2 separate regions of the Homo sapiens genome follow, and region 1 is linked to region 2. The links are contacts of gene promoters, found by promoter capture Hi-C in human tissues and cell types (Jung and others, 2019). All regions are on one chromosome and are shown on one strand. Each heading gives the region's core, a stretch centred on a gene start or on the middle of the fragment in contact. The rest is flanking DNA. Distances are from core to core; before and after follow the strand shown. Region 1 has its middle 5.5 kb from the start of SCYGR5. Region 2 holds the start of SLC19A3 (solute carrier family 19 member 3).

What was found. Contacts are between HindIII fragments. The study calls those that stand out against the background at their distance.
Region 1: a contact is called between a fragment that was not itself captured here and the fragment with the promoter of SLC19A3 in region 2, in 5 of the 25 tissues and cell types used here (H1 embryonic stem cells, bladder, hippocampus and 2 more).

Annotation. Positions count from the first base shown.
Region 1 is chr2:227,670,816-227,673,715 of GRCh38, reverse strand. No RefSeq gene overlaps it. Among named protein-coding and RNA genes, the nearest start is that of SCYGR5, 5.5 kb to the right of the region's middle. The HindIII fragment of the contact is 5,458 bases long and covers 1-2,900 here.
Region 2 is chr2:227,716,535-227,719,295 of GRCh38, reverse strand. It overlaps SLC19A3 (solute carrier family 19 member 3), which reads left to right and starts at 1,268. Exons shown (of 6, transcript NM_025243.4): 1 at 1,268-1,353. RefSeq lists an enhancer at 851-1,737. The HindIII fragment of the contact is 9,813 bases long and covers 1-2,761 here.

The sequences.
Region 1 (2,900 bases), core at 119-2,618, 46 kb after region 2:
ATGATTCAATCATCTCCCACCCGGCCCCTTCTCCAACACTGGGGATTACAATTCGACATGAGATTTGGGTGGGGACACACAGCCAAACCATATCACTCAGGTAGTTTATTTCATTTTATTTTATTATTTATTTATTTATTTATTTATTTATTTATTGAGACAGAGTCTCACTGTGTCACCCAGGGTGGAGTGCAGTGGCACAGTCTCGGCTCACTGCAGCCTCCACCTCTCAGGTTCAAGTGGTTCTTGTGCCTCAGCCTCCCAAGTAGCTGGGATTACAGGCACACGCCACCATAGCGGTCTAATTTTTCTATTTTTAGTAGAGACGGGATTTCACCATGTTGGCCAGGTCGATCTTGAACTCCTGACCTCAAGTGATCTGTCCACCTCAGCCTCCCAAAGTGCTGGGATTACAGACATGAGCCACCGCGCCCAGCCTTATTTTTATTTTTGGAAACAGAGTCTTGTTATTGCCCACGTTGGTCTTGAACTCCTGGCCTCACATCATCTCTCACCTCTGTCTCCCAAAGCACTGGGATTATAGATGTAAGCCACAGTGCCCAGAAAATCAGTTTTTATTTTAAACACAAATACATTCTCATCACATTAAAAAAATAGCCCTAATTATAGAAAATGTCTTTATTAAATCAATTTAGAGAATAGATATGTAGATATGTGGTTCTAGCACTTCCAGTAAATTAAAACAGACCTACAAGGAATTGGGCTGAGGACCAATAAGCAAAGTAAGGTGTGACTGCTGTATCATAGACTCAGGCTTCCTCAGGAACCTAGGCCATTGAGGACCTGGCTACGTGTTCTCTGCCAGTCTGTGTCCTTCTGCTGGAGCTTGAAGTGCGCAGATCAAGAAGTGAGGGCAGAAAAATGGATATAAGGGGAGGAGAGGAAGAACTAGCTGGGGCTCACCGTTATGAGCTGGGGCCCAGGAGGACAGACAGCCCCCCTTGTCAGTTCTTGTTGCCCCTGACCTTGGTGGCATGGGTGTCCTGCAGGAAAAGGAACCCTTTGTTATGGAGCTAACCAGGTATGTAGCTAACCAAAAGGTCACAGAAGCCAAAGGAAGATCCAGGAGAAGACAGAACCATTGCAGGCCTTGGCTGCTGCCTCACGCCAATGAATTAAGGAAAAGGAGAAGAAAACAATAAGTAAAGGAAAAGGTTATTAACATCTGGTAGAGCTGAATCAAGTTGCTTTTCTTTCTTTTCTTTTCTTTTTTTCTTTTTTTTTTTCTGTCAGACTTGTCTCTGACACAAGGTTGCTTTTCATCAAATCAAAATTCAAGCAAAAAAAATCTGTATTTTGTTGTAGTATGGGTATTGACAACAATGGATAAAGCCATTTCACACTTTGGCTACCAAGATATAGATATGGTTATTCCTTCCTTTCAGGGGACACGGCTATATCTTCACAGTGGGCCATGTGAAAGTCCACAGGGATCTTCTGGGGGAGTGGGCTTTGGGAATCTTACCAGCTGCTACCCTCAGAAGTGGCCAAGCTTCGTTAGTTATTTAATATTCATTCAGGTTACAGTTACATATGCATCATTGTCCATTTAGTTATAGCCCCTAATTATACAGTATTATTTTATCTTAGTAATTTCAGTTCCAAGAACAGCATTTTATAAGATATTTATGGTATTGTATTAAATACCACATGCTAGATAACATAATGCCGTCTGAATATAAGAATAGGAAACTTATACTGATGCTTATGATCAGTAAGCAGTGATACTGTCTCCAGTTTTGATATATCTTTCCTGTTTACTGTCACACCCAGTTTTTCTCGTCTGCTTTAGTAATTCCTGCGCAACTATTTCTTTGAAAAACAAATTGCAACATGTTCTCAGGGACGTCAAAAAAAAAAAAAACTAAATGCAAAGATTACAAGAAATGCTAAATTCCATGAAAGTTTACAAAGTCTAAAAGAACACTTGTACCCACAAAGAGAAGATAAAGTCAAGTCTGAGTTAGGTAAGTGAGCTGAAGAATTAAGGGGCCCTTAGGCCACTTGGAAAGCACATTAAAGCAATGAAGTGCCACTTTTCTGTTAGATCATGTGTTCTTAGATTAATGATCAAGCTGACTAGTAATAAAGCAACAAATCTGGAAAAGTATCCTCAGTCTGACACTACAGGACCCAATCATATAGTCATGATCTGGTGCCTTTGGTTAGACTGGGGATACTTGAAGATGAAAAATTTAAAAAAGAGAATTTAAAAAAACACTGCTATTCTTCAGGCATCAAATTCTCTTTCACCCTTGAGGGCCTTGGGAGAACAATGATCTCTTCTTTTGTAAATTTTCCTATTGTGAAAGATAGAAAAAACAACATAAGAATTGAGACATTTGTGATTATGTAAATGACTACAGCCTTATGATTGCTGACTATGGTATAAATGTGGTAAGTATTTTTTTTTAAACGGACTGACTCATGTTCATTAAGTATTTTTGTGAGATTTTTGGATGCCTGTCTAGGTAAGAAAACTGTGGGATGAAAGTTAAACTTTGAAGTGTTGTCATTTTGTAGTAAGTCATATTCACAAATATTAAAAATCATGATTCTTGTCTTCATTTGAATGCTCTCAAGGGAAGTCTTGTGTCTCTCTGTATTGTTCATGTTAAAAACTCTAGAGTTTCTTAGAGGACCACAAGACCAAATGAAAGATGCTCTTATGATGACTGTGATTCAAATCAGTCTTTCTCCAATTTCTAAAATGTAGCAAACATGAATATCAGATAAACCTGCAGCCACCCTAGGTTTTGGTTCTCCCAGATGTAATGACACAGAACACAGACCTTGGTATGGGAGGTCAAATCCTACACCTGCCACATACTAATTGTGCGAATCTCAACAAGCACTTTAACTTCTGTGATCTTCCTTTC
Region 2 (2,761 bases), core at 19-2,518:
ATTGAGGTTGCAGTGAGCTGGGGTTGCACCACTGCACTCCAGCCTGGGAGATAAAGTGAGACTTTGTCAAAAAAAAAAAAAAAAGAAAGAAAGAAAGAGAAAAGAAAAGAAAAGAGGCCAGGTGGCCGGGTGCTGTGGCTCACACCTGTAATCCTAGCACTTTGGGAGGCCGAGGCGGGTGGATCACCTGAGGTCAGGAGTTTGAGACCAGCCTGGACAACATGGTGAAACCCCATCTCTACTAAAAATACAAAAATTAGCTGGGTGTGGTGACGGGCGCCTGTAATCCCAGCTACTAGGGAGGCTGAGGCAGAAGAATTGCTGGAACCCGGGAGGTGGAGGTTGCAGTGAGCCAAGATCGTGCCATTGCACTCCAGCCCGGGGCCAACAACAGCGAGGCTCCATCTCAAAAAAAAAAAGAAAGAAAGAAAGAAAGAAAAAAGACCAGGCGCGGTGGCTCACGCCTGTAATCTCAGCACTTTGAGAGGCCGAGGCAGGCGGATCACGAGGCCAGGAGTTCGAGATGAGCCTGGCCAATATGGTGAAACCAAACCCCGTCTCTACTAAAAACACAAAAATTAACTGGGCGTTAATTTTTGGAGGCTGAGGCAGGAGAATCGCTTGAACCCGGGAGGCGGAGGGTTGTAGTGAGCCGAGATCGCGCCACTGCACTCCATCCTGGGCGACAGAGGGAGACTCTGTCTCAAAAAAAAAAAAAAGAAAGAAAGAAAAGAGAAAAGAAAAGAAAAAGAAGAAGAAAAGAAAAAATTGTTTGTATCAGATTTTCAAAGTGCCAGGAAACCATCCCACTCTACCTCCTTTAAAAAAAAAAAGTGCAGAGTGATTATAACCACTGGCTCTGGAGCCAGGAGCCCCAACTAAAACCCAGGCTTCTCTATTTACTAGGCCTACTTCCTTCCGCCTCACTTTCTTCATGTGTAGAGTGGGGGTGACAGCCAGCCAGCCCTCTCTCCTAAGCTTTTGGAGAGAAATAAATGGATTCATAAGAAAGGACATATTTGTAAATAAAGCAAACGATCGCTGTTGGATTCAGGCCCTCTTGCTTCATTATGCTGAATGTCAGTGTATTACTTAAGTTGTTCCTTTCAGCAGAGTTGACTGTTTCTGCCCAGAAAACCGGCCCTGGGCCAGGAAAATCTGGGCTTCCACACTGGGATGAAAGGTCTGGACGCCCGGATTCGCATATGCAAAGCGTGGGGGCGTGGCCCCGGGCTCCGGGCCAGGCAGGCTCCGCCCCCTTCCCACCAAGAGCGCCTGGATCCATCCGACAGCCGCGGGTGCGTGGTCGTGCGGCAAGTGAGCGATTTGGTGAACAGACACTCCCTTCTGTAGGTAAGAATATCTCGGGGGGCGAATTAATTGAAGAAGCACCGTCATCCCTCGGTCTTAGCAGTGTCGCCTCTCTCTTCCCGGGTTTGGAGAGCTGGGGGCGGGTTCCTGGCTCTGCGGGCCTGGGCTACACTCTGAGCCGCGTGAGGAGCTCTCCCCCTACGCCGCAGCCCGCGTGCTGGGATTCACCCAAGTGGGTTTGTCTGGAATTCCCATTTGCAGCCTTCTGGAAGCGCAGATTAAATAAAATCATGATTCCCGTAAAGTGCCAGCACCTCCTATGGTTACATCCCACGTTCACAGATTTTAACTGAAAAGGCATTTTAGCATAGAATTCCAAATTCCAATCCAAGGATGGAGAAAAGGTCCTTCCTAGTGGGAAAAAGGAAGGTGAGTTTGAATTTAAGAGAGCAGGGGCTTTTTTGGGAACCACTTGAAATTTAGTTAATTGAAACTAAAAGAAAACGCAACTACACCTTACAAAAACACTGCTGGAAAGGATACCTAAGTCATCAAATAATAAATAGTGTGACAGCTGTTTACCAAATCAATGTCGCTGCCGCAAATGTGCAAAAGGTTGGGACTTTCGGAGTGCTTCAAGTTTGAAAAAGGTAAAGGAATAATGTTTTCTAAAAGTACTCTCAGGCCAGGCGCAGTGGCTCACGCCTGTAATCCCAGCACTTTGGGAGGCTGAGCGGGGCGGATTGCTTGAGGTCAGGAATTCGAGACCAGCTTGGCCCTGGGATGAAACCCCGTCTCTACTAAAAAGGCAAAAATTAGCCGGGCATGGTGGCGGGTGCCTGTAATCCCAGCTACACTGGAGGCTGAGGCTGAAGAATGGCTTGAACTTGGGAGGCGAAGGTTGCAGTGAGCCAAGATTGCACCACTGCACTCCAGCCTGGGCGACCCAGCAAGATTCTGCCTCAAAAAAAAAAAAAAAAAAAAAAAAAAAGCACTCTCATGTGTTTTGCTCCTATCAATATTGAAACATTGGTGTCTCCTGTGGCAAAAGGTGTTTTTTTCATCGAGGCACATATATTAAATAGACCAAAACATAACTTCCCAAATATCTTATAAGATTATCCTAGTAGTAGCTGAAATGGACAAAAATACCAATTTCCTTCAGTCATTATTGCTAATAGACCAACAACACTCTTTTAAGGTTGTGTAATGGTAAATGCATACACATTTATTTAACATGCACACAGGGAGAATCAGAGTGATTGATTACCCACCCTGCAACATGTCTCAGAAGCTTATAGACTACCCTGGCAAATGAGGTTACGGGAGGGAGCCGAAGAGCATCCAGCAGAAGTGGATGGGCTTCTGCTAGGGAGCATGAATGGGTCAGGGGAGAGAATAAGCTACATTATCTTGTGAATGGGTCTGTTCAGGTGTGGGGTATATTCTT